Regions from separate parts of the Homo sapiens genome. Here regions 1 and 3 are each linked to region 2. The links are contacts of gene promoters, found by promoter capture Hi-C in blood cells and fetal thymus (Javierre and others, 2016). All regions are on one chromosome and are shown on one strand. Each heading gives the region's core, a stretch centred on a gene start or on the middle of the fragment in contact. The rest is flanking DNA. Distances are from core to core; before and after follow the strand shown. Region 1 holds the start of TIMP1 (TIMP metallopeptidase inhibitor 1). Region 2 holds the start of ZNF157 (zinc finger protein 157). Region 3 overlaps UBA1 (ubiquitin like modifier activating enzyme 1).

Region 1 (4,110 bases), core at 1,578-4,077, 210 kb before region 2:
GGGTGTAGACGAACCGGATGTCAGCGGCATCCCCTAAGGCTTGGAACCCTTTATACATCTGTTGATGGATGAGGGGAAGTGTCTCTTTTACTGACATAATCCTCCCACTCCAGGTTCTTCCCTGAAGTCATATAGCATCCCAAGATCACAGCCAACTTTCTCGCACCAACCAGTGGCCAGAAGTTTCTGTTTTGACCAGGAGGAAGATGTTAGAAAATGCTGGGAAAGAGGCGGGGGCAGGGGATACCTTGGTCATCTTGATCTCATAACGCTGGTATAAGGTGGTCTGGTTGACTTCTGGTGTCCCCACGAACTTGGCCCTGATGACTGCAGGAGAGGAGGGAAATATGAGTCAAATGGACTGCATGAGCCAATAAAAATAAGATCATCATCATCATCATCATCATACCAGCAAAGCGCATACATAAATAGGGGTTATTGGATGCCAGACAGCACACAAAGTGATTTACACATTTGTTCATTGATTCATCTGTATGTTGAGTGTCTCTCTTTGCCGGGCACTGCTTAAGCCATTTTCATACATTGATTTGTTCATTTACTCCTCAAATATTTGGGAGTGCCCACTGTGTGCCAGACATTGTTCTGGGTGTTAGGGACACAACAGTGAACAAAACACAGAAATCCCTTTCCTTGTGGAGTTCACATTCTAGCCAGGAGGAGACAGGCTAAGAACAAACAAAATAAGGATATGGAATGTTAGACATTAAGTATAATGGGGAATTACAGACCTGGGTAAGGGGCTGACAAAGATTCTTTGCTTGACCAAACTTTACTCAGGCTCCTGAACCTCCTCCTAGGCCCATCTGTGCACTTCCTTGTAAAATCCAGTTTTAGCCGAGAGCCTTGCTAAGTCAGTTTAGCAAGAACCCCTATATTCTATATCTGATCATCCTCAATCTCTGATCATCCTCAATACCTGATCATCCTCAATCTCTGATCATCCTCAATACCTGATCATCCTCAATCTCTGATCATCCTCAATACCTGATCATCCTCAATCTCTGATCATCCTCAATCTCTGATCATCCTCAATACCTGATCATCCTTGCTATCTGACTGGGTTCTTCATCTTCCACCATCCCCCAGGTGATGTCTGATTCCCCTTGGCCTGCCTTCAGCAAGAATCCTGTTACGTCGGTTTAGCCAGAATCCCCCTTACCCCTGATGTTTCTTCTTAGTAATTTCCACCCACAGACCCTCACACTGCTCCTTAGCTACACATTCCCACTGGCCCATGCTATATTCAGTGTTGAGCCCAATCTCTCCCACCGACTGCAAGATCCCATTGCAGTGGTTCCTATACCCATCACCATGGTCCTGAATATGGTCTTCCTTACTGTGTTATAACAAGTATCACTGAATATTTTTCTGTTTAACAGGAGATCAGGAGTACTAAGGGGCAGGGGTTAAAATTTTAAACAGGATGGCCAGGGAAGGCCATCCTGAGAAGGTGACGTTTGAGGCAGCCACCCATGTGGATACCTGGGGGGAAAGTGTACCAGGCAGAGGGAGCAGCCAGCATGCAGATCCTGTGGTGGGCTTGGGCACAGAGTACTCAAGGAAGTGTGAGGATGCCAGTGTGGCTAAAGCAGAGGAAGTGCAGGGGCGAGTGGAATCATTCTAGAGGTAAGTGCCATGGTGAGCCCCACTGGACTGAAAGGGAAACCAAGGCAGAGTGTGTGGGCTGAGTGGGGTGAGGACTCACCGAGGTCGGAATTGCAGAAGGCCGTCTGTGGGTGGGGTGGGACACAGGTGCAGGCCCTGCTGGGGGCTATCAGCCACAGCAACAACAGGATGCCAGAAGCCAGGGGCTCAAAGGGGGCCATGGTGGGTTCTGTGGGGAAGGGGGATGTCAGGCAGGCCCCGGCCCAGCTGATCTGCTGACCTGGGCAGGTCATCCACCCCATCTTGCCCCGGGGCAGCCTATGGGGGGGATTAGGGGGCTGGATTTGGGCTTGAGGGGTTGGTAAGCTTAGGGATTTTAAGGGGATTGGGGAGCGCAGAGGAATTTAGGGTTTAGAGAGTTGGGAGAGTTTAAATTATTGAGGGACTGAGTGAGTTGCGGGGTTATGGGGTTGTGGCACTTGGGGGAGAAGGGGGCTGAGGAAGTTTGAGGAATGAGGGGATTGGGGAATTCTGGAGGTTGAGGAGTTTGGGGGTGAGGAATTTGGGATTGGGGGCTGGAGGAGTTTGGAGACGGCAGAGTTTAGGGGTTGTGTATATTAAGAGATATAAGAGGCTGGGGGAATTTAGGGAGGTTGAGGAATTTGGAGGAGGTTGGGGGTTTAGGGAGCTGGGGGAGTTTGGAGGTTGAAGGGGTTGGGGGAATTTGGGGGCTTAAGGCAATGGGGATACTTGAGGAATTTGAGGGCAAAAGAAGTTTGGGAGCTGGGGAACTGGGGATTGGGGAGCTGGGGGAGTTTAGGGAGCTGCAGGGGTTAGCGGTGGGTATTTAGGGGGCGATGAGGGAAATTTCGGGATGAAGGAATTTGCGGGGGGATTTGGAAAGCATTTGTGATATTAGGGGGTCATGGGTTTGGGGGAATTGGGGGCGGATGTCAGGGGTTCTAGGGAGTTTGGAGCCTCGGGGTTGGGAAAGCAGTTCCAGCCTCCGACCCTCTTCCCCCTAGACTAGCCCAGGGTCCTGGTACCCGCAGGCCAAGCTGAGTAGACAGGCATCTGGCACGGGAGTGCACGGGCCTGGTGGCCAGCACCCAAGCTGCAGCCCAGCTCCGGTCCCTGCTGGGCCACCCCGGGCCCTGCTTACCTCTGGTGTCTCTCTGGGCGCTGGATCTGCGGCGATGGCGGCAGGGCCTGAGCGCTAGAGGATAAATGTCCACGCTAGGGGCGGGGGTGGCAGCGGGTGCGGAAACCACAGGCCTCCAGGCTTCCTGGATGCATTACTCATCCACCCACCATCAGTGCAGAAGCCAAGGGGCGGGCCGACGAAAGGAGATACACCCTCCTCCTCTCCCACCCGCCTCCTCTCCCTCTCCCTGGGCCTCGCCCGGGCCAGCCACCTCCCCCACCTCCACGTCAGTCACTATTCCTTCCAAGCCGCCTCAGCGGAGAGCTTAGAGGCCGCATTTCCCCCGGCCCAGTCCCCTAAAGTCTCCAGAATCTATCCAATCACCCACATCCCCCAAGCTCCCTATGACTCAAACCCAAATTAGTTCAGCCCTTCAACATTTATTGTGCATCTACTGTGTGCCAAGCACACAAAAATCCCTTGTTTTGTATGTCTGACATGCTGGTGAGGGGTGGCAGAGAGGAAACAAATTAAGTAGCAGCAGTGGAGGGAGATAAGGCAGGTGAAAGGGGAGGAATACAAAATGGGGAAACTGAGGCACGGAGTGGTTAAGTGACTTACCCAGGATCACAGAGTCAATACATGGCAGAACTGAGACTGGAACTCAGGTGGCCAGGAGCCAAAGCCAGGGTCTCAAATAACACAGGCAAATAGCCGGCATTTATACAGCACCTACTGTATACCAGGCACTCAGCATAGTTTATCTCACTCAAAGCTCACAACAAATCTCTGAGATGGGTACCGGTTCTTATTCCCGTTTTACGGATGAGGAAATATGGGGCGTAGAGGAACTGTAGAATTTTCCTAAGATCACAGGGCATGGCCGGGATTCAAACAGAGGCTACCTGGCACCAGGGTTGTAACTCAGGAGTGGCACCGTCCTAGCAAGCAGGGAATGGTGCGGGTGAATGAATGAGCATTGGGAAGGGGGTGGCCATGAATGATGGTGAAAGAAGCAAGTGAGTGGGTCAGTAGAAAACTAATCCCCACCCCATCCTGCCCTGCCCCCTCCCCATGGACCTGTACCCCTGGTGGGGGGTGGGGTGGGGCAATCCTTGCCCACCAGCTTTCTGACAATGCAGGAACCTTCCCTGGGGTTCTGATTAACATCCTTAATTCGAGGAGGATAGATCAATAATAATAATTGTAGTGATGATGGCAGCCACTTATTGAGCACTTTCTGTGTACTATGTGCTAAAGTGTTTGTATAAATTATCTCATTCACTCACCATACTCCCTTGCTAATTAAGTTTGATTAACTCAGGGATGATAGCCCAATA
Region 2 (4,334 bases), core at 1,443-3,942:
TGGCCGCTCACCCTCAACAGGAAACACAAAACTGACTATGTTTACTGATTTATTATAAAGGATTTTTTTTTAAGACAGAGTCTCGCTCTTTTGCCCAGGCTAGAGTGCAGTGGTGCGACCTCGGCTCACTGCAACCTCCGCCTCACAGGTTCAAGTGATTCTCCTACCTCAGCCTCCCGAGTAGCTGGATTACAGGTGCCCGCCACCACACCCAGCTAAATTTTGTATTTTTAGTAGAGATGAGGTTTTATCATGTTGGTCAGGCTAGTCTTGAACTCCTGACCTCAAGCGATCCTCCCACCTCGGCCTCCCAAAGTGCTGGAATTACAGGCATGAGCCACCGTGCCCCACCTGAGCTTTATTTTTTGTAGTAATGAGGTCTCACTTTGTTGCCCAGGCTGGTCTTGAATTCCTGAACTCAAGCAATTCTCCGGCCTCTCCCACCAATAAAGGATATTTTAAAGAATACAAATTCAGGCCGGGCATGGTGGCTCACACCAGTAATCCCAGCACTTTTGGAGGCCAAGGCAGGTGGATCACCTGAGGTCGGGAGTTTGAGACCAGCCTGACCAACATGGAGAAACCTCATCTCTACTAAAAATACAAAATTAGCTGGGCGTGGTGGCATATGCCTGTGATCCCAGCTACTTGGGAGGCTGAGGCAGGAGAATCACTTGAATCCAGGAGGTGGAGTTTGCAGTGAGCCAAGATCACGCCATTGCACTCCAGCCTGTGCAACAAGAGCGAAACTCCATCTCAAAAAAAAAAAAAAAAAGAATACAAATAAATCACAGCCAAATAAAGAGATACATAGGGCAAGGCATGTGGGAAGGGGCCTGGAGTCTTCATGCGCTCTCTGGGTGCACCACCCTCCAGGAACCCCCATGTGTTCGGCTACCCAGAAGCTCTCCAGACTTTATCCTTTTGGGGCTTTAGGGGGGCTTCATTATGTAGGCATGATTGATTAAATCATTTGCCCTTGTGGATCGACTTGACTCTCAGCACCCTCTCCCCTCCCAGGTGGTTGGAGGGTCCCAACCCTCTAAACCTACCTTAGTCTTTCTGGTGACCAGCCCCATTCGGAAGCTGCCTAGGGACTGCCAGGCATCAGTCAACTCATTAGCATACAAAAAGACACTTTAGTACTTTAGAGATTCCGAGGATATTAGGAGTTGTTTGCCAGGAAAGACCAATTATATATTTCACAGTATCACACCCCTACAAAAACCTTACACAAACTATTATAGGATCTTTATTCATAATATCCAACAACTAGAAACAACCAAGATGTCTTTCAACCAGTGAATGGTTATACTGTTTGGTACATCCATGCGATGGAAAAGTATCAGCAATAAAAGGAATGGGCAGGGCACGGTGGCTTACGCCTGTAATCCCAGCACTTTGGGAGGCTGAGGCAGGTGGATCACGAGGTCAGGAGTTCAAGACCAGCCTGGCCAACATGGTGAAACCCCGTCTCTACTAAAGATACAAAAAATTAGCCAGGTGTGGTGGCACGCACTTGTAATACCAGCTACTCGGGAGGCTGAGGCAGGAGAATAGCTTGAACCCGGGAAGCAGAGGTTGCAGTGAGCCAAGATCACGCCATTGCAGTCCAGCCTGGGTGACAGGGCAAGACTCTGTCTCAAAAAAAATGAATGAACTATTGATATACTGTTAGCTATTGATATCTCCACAGAATTTTGCTGAATGACGAAAGCCAGTCCCAAAAGGTACATACTGTACAATCTGATTAATATAACAGTCTCTCTTTTTTGTCCTTTTTTTCCTTTTTGTGGAGAACAGGGTCTCACTATATTGCCCAGGCAGGTCTCAAACTCCTAGGCTCAAACTATCCTCCTGCTTCTGCCTCCCTAAGAGCTGGGATTACAGGCATGAGCTGCCATGCCCGGCAAATAAAACTTTTTTTTTTTTTTGAGACAGGGTCTCACTCTGTCACCCAGGCAGAGTGCAGTGGCACGATCTTGGCTTACTGCAACCTCCGCCTCCAGGTTCAAGCGATTTTCCGGTCTCAACCTCCCGAGTAGCTGGGAGTACAGGTGCGTGCCACAACACCTGGTTAATTTTTGTATTTTTAGTACAAACAGGGTTTCACTATGTTGGCCAGGCTGGTCTCAAACTCCTGGCCGCAAGTGATCCACCCGCCTCGGCCTCCCAAAGTGCTGGGATTACAGGTGACAGGCGTGAGCCACCACGTCCAGCCACAACATTCTTGAAATGAAAAAATTATAGTATTGGAGAACAGATTGGTGGTGCCCCAGGGTTAAGAGGGGAGTGATGGAGGAAGTGAAGTGGTTGTGTCTATTTAATGACAACATGGGGGATCCTTGTGGGGATGGAAATGCTCTGCATGTCAATATCCTGGGTATTACGAGATGTTACTACTGGGGACAAAAACTAGGTAAATGGTACATTGCATTTGAATCTACAATTATCTCAAAATATAAATTTAACTAAAAATAAATAAAAAAATAAAGAACATATAGAAAAAAATAGGATCCTCCTCCTTACCTCAAAAGATCTGCCAGGTTCTCCTGGAATCAGGGCAGGGAATCTCTGGGGTGATGTCCCATTAGCTGGCATGTTCACCCTGGGCCTCAGCCCACCTTCCGTGCTGGACAGCTGTCTGTGTGTAGAGGGTCCTGCAGCCTCCAGTAAGGGGTAAGGCTCAATGGCTCCACAGAGACACCAAGAAATCCTAAAAGGACAGTATCCATATCATCAGTGTCATCCCACATTCACGCCACAATGTTCAGCATCCCCAGAGCATGAGTCAAGGTGGATTACAAAATGATCAAATTTGGGGCCAAATTAATGAGCTTGGGGTCCCTTCTTGAGTGGCTCTACCAGGTGCTTCACTCGCTACTCAGCCAGCCTACACCTCAGTTCAAGTTCAAGGCAGATCTGGGTTTAGGAGAAGTAGAACTGGGGCAGTGCTTAAGGGTGCTTAAGGCCCATGGGGTGGGCAGGTTCAAGGGGACCTGGTGGGTGACTGTGAGGGCAGGAAACCTGGAAAGCTGATAATCTAAATGAAAGGAAATCGGCTGGTCCTTTCTTCTGCCGTCTTTTGTTTTTTTCCACTCTTAGATGAAATATCCCTCTTAAATTCTTTTACTGGGAAGCTTTTAGCCTCTTCTTTCCAGAAAAAAATGGTTCAATCTTAATAATGTTATGTATTTTTTCTTTTTTTTTTTTTTTTTTTTGAGATGGAGTTTCACTCTTGTCACCCAGGCTGCAGTGGAATGGTGCGATCTCAGCTCACAGCAACCTCCGCCTCCCAGGTTCAAGGGATTCTCCTGCCTCAGCCTCCCTAGTGGCTGGGATTACAGGCGCCCGCCACCACGCCCAGCTAATGTTTGTATTTTTAGTAGAGACGGGTTTTCACTATGTTGGTCAGGCTGGTCTCGAACTCCTGACCTCAAGTGATCCTCCCGCCTTGGCCTCCCAAAGTGCTGGGATTACAGGTGTGAGCCACTGCACCAGGCCTAATGTTATGTATTACATCAACAAATTACAGAGGGAAACACTCTGCTGTTAACTTACACCAAAAAAGCATCCAACGCAATTCAGCAGCCATTACTAATATAAGCTCAAACTAAAATCATGGAAAAAGTAAATAACTTAAGTGCCACAAAAATCAATTATGAAACATAACTCTGAAACACCATGCTAAAAAGTAAAATGATGAAGCTATTGCCACAAAATTAGTACTGTCTGCTATAACCCAAAATTGTTTTGTGGGCTCTAGCTCACACAAGAGAAGATGAAATAGAGTGGGCTGGGCACAGTGGCTCATGCCTGTAATCTCAGAACTTTGGGAGGCCAAGACAGGAGGGTTGCTTGAGTCCAGGAGTTCGAAACCAGCCTTGGCAACAAAGTGAGACGCTGTCTTTACAAGAAATAAAATAATCCGAGTGTGGTGGTCCACACCTGTAGTGCCAGCTACTAAGGAAGCTGAAGCAGAAGGATAGCTTAAGAAGCCTGAGAGGTTGAGGCTGCAGTGACCTCTGATGGCGCCACTGCACTCCAGCCTGGGTGACAGAGCAAGACTTTGTCTCTAAAAGAGAAAGAAAAAGAAAGAGAGAAAGAGAGAAAGAAAGAAAGAAAGAAAGAAAGAAAGAAAGAAAGAAAGAAAGAAAGAAAGAAAGAAAGAGAGGAAGGAAGGATGGAAGGAAGGAAGGAAGGAAGGAGGGAAGAAAGGAGAAAAGAAGAGAAAAGAAATAAATAATCAGGCCAGGTGCAGTGGCTCACGGCTTTAATCCCAACACTTTGGGAGGCCAAAGCAAGAGGATCCCTTGAGCCCAGGTGTTCAAAAC
Region 3 (4,033 bases), core at 496-2,995, 160 kb after region 2:
AAGTCTGATCTCAAATGTCATCTTTTCAGCAAGGCCTTTTCTGACCATCCTACACAAAATCTCAAATACATCCCCTCGCCCCCTGGTATTCTCAAGTCCTCTTTATCTTTTTTTTTTTTTGAGATGCAGTCTCGCTCTGTCACCCAGGCGGGAGTGCAATGGCGCCATCTTGGCTCACTGCAACCTCCGCCTCCCGGGTTCAAGTGATTCTCTTGCCTCAGCCTCCCGAGTAGCTGGGATTACAGGTGCCTACCACTACGCCTGGCTAATTTTTTGTATTTTTAGTAGAGACAGGGTTTCATCATGTTGGCCAGGCTGGTCTCAAACTCCTGACTTCAGGTGAACCACGTGCCTCGGCCTCCCAAAGTGCTGGGATTACAGGCGTAAGCCACCACGCCCGGCCTCTTTTTATCCTTTTTTGATTCCAAAATCATTTAATAGGTTATTTATATAATCTACTTGAGGAACATAACTTAGAAGAGTCCCTGCACACAAAAGGTGCTCAATAAATATTTGAGTGAATTCATTAATGAAGCAAGCAAAGCACTTAAGTGTAGGAAGCGTCCAATAAATTTTGGCTGCCATTATTGTGTAGTTACTAATAATCTCCCAGGGCACAATTCAAATATCCCATCTTTTCGCACGTACTCAAATAATGTGATTAATGAATAAGTGAAAAAGGATACACAAAAAGGGTAGGTACACAGACAGAAACCCTCACCTGGTGACAGGGTATGACGTGAATCAGAACCAGATCTACACAGATACACCCCACCCAAACCCTGCTTCGGATGCAGGCCCCCACCTGGTGACGTGGTGCGGCAAGGGGTTCAGAGAAACCAAAGAAAGGCAGGGCCAAGTTGAGGAAACCATTCTTGTAGGAGTCAAGCTGTCGGTGCCCCTGCACAACCTTGTACAGCTCCAGACACACAAGGCCAACCACGGCTGCTGTGGTCGTGGCAATGGCTGGGATGATCTTCCCTGCAATCAGCTTGCTCTGAGAGACAGAAGGGACAAAAGAAGGTGGTAGTTAAGTACAAGAGCCTCAGGGTCTACAGAGGGGCTAAGTGTGGGTAACTCAAACCTGGAGGAGGGTGGAACATCAGATTTAGATTCCCCTCACCTTGTGCCGGTCTGCAGAAGGAATGTCATAGTTTTCTGCCCGGAGGTTGGATGCAGCCACGATGAAATCCATATGAAAGTTGCTGTCATCATCCTGTTATGAGTGGGGAGGGTGTGAAGGCAGTGGGGAGAGGATCAGATAAAGAAGATGTGTATCCTCCACTGCAATTGCCTGCTGGACTCTCCCAGATCACAAAGGGATGGCTGGGAACACCTACTCATTCAGAGCCATATGGCAGGCCCACAATCTGATCCCCACAAAGGCCCGGGGCTGGCTCCAGATACTCCTGTTTTCTCCAGCCTGTCTATGCTTTGCCCATCCTCCTTCCCTGTCCTGAGCCCCACCCCATACCTTCTCAAAGTCAATGGGGTACATCTTGAATCCAGGGAGCTTGTCTGGGCTGGGCAGAGTGGCTTTGAGCTCCTCTAGACGACTGTCATCTGCATGAAGAAAGGGACACTGTCAGCCCTTTAGATCCCAGGCTAAGGTCTGAGATGGAAATGAGAGCCCAGGGTGGGGCAAAAGGTATTCAGGTACAAAAAGGATTTGGAAAGGAGAGACATCCTGGGAGAGAAAAGGGGCAAGGAGGAGAGGTAGAGCAGAGCAGAATACAAACCTGAAAAACACAGAGAAAGAGCTGAGGCTATCAAGAATGATCTCTCTAGAGACACTAAGGAACGGAAATGAAAATGTTAGGAGAAAGTGGAGATGGAGAGATCAAGATGGGAGACGTAAAGATCTTGGGAAGAATGATGTAGAGCAAGATGGGGGGAACACAGAGGATACAGGGAGGAAAAGGGGAGTAAAAAAGATATATGGAGGGGAAGTTGGGGGGAATACACAGATGTGGACATAGAGGAAAGATATGGGGGGAGATGGAGAAGATATAAAAGGGGGAGAGTGGGGGTATATACAGAGGGCGAGGCAGGTGGGAGGAGAAAGATGGAAGAAATATATGAAGGTGATGAGAGCTATGGAAGGAAAGATTGGAAGACATACATAAAGGAACATGAAGGAGTAGACATTTCAGAAGGAAGATGGGGACCATGGAAGGGGAAATGGGAGGAGATCTATGGAGAGGAAGACGGGGGAGATATAAGGAAGGTAAATGTAGGGGGCGTTACAGAGCTACAGAAGCATCATATACAGAAGGGAGGGGTGGTGAAAAAATATGCAGATGGGGTGGGGTGGGGGTGTCAGTAAACCGCAGCCCCAAACTATGGAGGGTGAAGATGCACAGAGAAACATGCAGGTAGATGTACAGATGGGGGCGGATCTGGAAGGAGACAAGGCAGGAAAGTATCAAGGGAGAGAGACTGCTGGTAGAGATCATACCTCCTAGATGAACAGATCAAGAAGAAACAGAAGAAAGAACAAAACTAAGGGAAATACACAGAGCAAGAGTAAAACAGCAAGTTCTCCTGAGGGCCAGATAGTGGGAAGGAGGAGGAGGGAGGGAGATAATTTGCCCCAACCTACCCTCTTCATGTCAAAGGGAGGCTCAAAGGAAGGTGTGGGTAAACCTCAGGCCTGGGGTCACAGAGCAGAGCAGAACCAGGGGTAGAGGACTGGTGGGGAGGCTGGACTAGGCCGGGGACATGTGGGGTGACTCCTGGCCAACTGGCCAAACACCCTCACCAACAGAGGCATTGGCGCTCTGCAGCTCCTGGTCAGAAACATGGATCTTGACGCCAGACTTGGGGGTGAATTCGGGGACCTGCACAGACTGCAGGAATGTGGCCACAGCAGCTCGGTCCTGAGAGCCTGTCAGCCCGTAGGTCTGGGCAAACAGGTTGGCAGCAGCCATCACATAGTCCAGATGCAGGGGCTAGGAGAAGGCAGGGCAGGGAAGGGTGAGCACATCAGCCCTCGAGTGGGGAGCCGCCACCTCCTTCCCACCTATTCACCCTCCACCTGACCCCAGAAGACCCTAGAAAGGAGACTTACATTGTTGACATCAAAGGTGAGCGGGTGTGGACAGCGTTTGGGCCCAGACCAGAACGGCGCTCCTGAGCTTGTGAGCTAAGGGATGGAGAGATTTTTGAGAACAGGACCTGAGAGTGAAGGCCTCTCTGACAATCTTCACGCTTCACCTAGGCCCCAGATGTGCCCCCAATTCACTATCTTGGGTTGGGCACTCGATGCGGACTGGAGCCAATCACAAAATACCTCAACTGTAGGGTCCCACAGGTTGAACCAGAGATCTGGCTGAGAGAACAATTACCAATCACTGGGTAGCCATTTTGTGCTAAACAGCCCATCATTTAACAAACTCTCATGGATTACCAGGCATTGTACTAACTTCATTTTAATAAATACCAGTTAATCCTCCCCAAACCCCCCATGAGATAGATCACTATTATTTCTACTTCACAGACGAGGAAACTGAGGTACAGAGAGAAGTTACGTGATTTGCCTAAGTTCAAGTAGAGTTTGGATTTGAACCCATATTGATTCCTGTGCTCTTAACTCCAGAATTTCTCCCCCATAATCCCTACAGCCCTGACTGGGAATCAGGTATGACGCAGCCCACACCACAGTCAAGGGCAATAGCAACCAAGCCTCTTTGCTCAAAGGAACTAGGGTGAGGAAAAAGCAGGTCAGGATCAATCACTCTTCTCAGATCCCCATGCCTCAGGGCACCTGCCACAGCTGGACTCCACAGTGGGAGGACCCACACTGCAGGCTCCCATTTCAGGGAAACACATTCTGCCAAATGGACCCAACAACTGGGCATTACCTGGTCAGGAGGGAAGTTGTGCAGCAGCTGCCGGATGTTGTTCGAGTACTGGGTGTGCCAGTGGTGGCAGGCCCAGGTCACGCAGTCAGCCCAGGTCTGTGGTCGCTGCAGCACCAGGCTGCGCTGCACAGCCTCCAGCACCTCCAAGGGCTGAGTGCCTGCCAGCCGCA

What was found. Contacts are between HindIII fragments. The CHiCAGO score rates a contact against its expected background, and 5 or more counts as called.
Region 1: the fragment with the promoter of TIMP1 here is called in contact with the fragment with the promoter of ZNF157 in region 2 in 4 of 17 cell types (non-activated CD4 T cells, naive B cells, activated CD4 T cells and 1 more); the score reaches 7.0 in non-activated CD4 T cells.
Region 3: a fragment that was not itself captured here is called in contact with the fragment with the promoter of ZNF157 in region 2 in 4 of 17 cell types (fetal thymus, total B cells, naive B cells and 1 more); the score reaches 6.3 in fetal thymus.

The regions. Positions count from the first base shown.
Region 1 is chrX:47,581,153-47,585,262 of GRCh38, reverse strand. It overlaps TIMP1 (TIMP metallopeptidase inhibitor 1), which reads right to left and starts at 2,827. Exons shown (of 6, transcript NM_003254.3): 1 at 2,789-2,827; 2 at 1,727-1,855; 3 at 248-327; 4 at 1-58. The coding sequence starts at 1,847. All of the region lies in intron 5 of SYN1 (synapsin I), which reads left to right. RefSeq lists silencers at 2,870-2,969, 3,030-3,179. The HindIII fragment of the contact is 9,422 bases long and covers 1,995-4,110 here.
Region 2 is chrX:47,368,936-47,373,269 of GRCh38, reverse strand. ZNF157 (zinc finger protein 157) reads right to left here and starts at 2,692. Exons shown (of 4, transcript NM_003446.4): 1 at 2,530-2,692. The coding sequence starts at 2,601. The HindIII fragment of the contact is 3,930 bases long and covers 1-3,142 here.
Region 3 is chrX:47,209,954-47,213,986 of GRCh38, reverse strand. UBA1 (ubiquitin like modifier activating enzyme 1) reads right to left here. Exons shown (of 26, transcript NM_003334.4): 18 at 3,864-4,033; 19 at 3,071-3,145; 20 at 2,762-2,951; 21 at 1,475-1,563; 22 at 1,124-1,216; 23 at 806-997. All of the region lies in intron 2 of LOC105373194 (a long non-coding RNA gene), which reads left to right. Among named protein-coding and RNA genes, the nearest start is that of CDK16, 6.7 kb to the left of the region's middle. The HindIII fragment of the contact is 8,666 bases long and covers 1-4,033 here.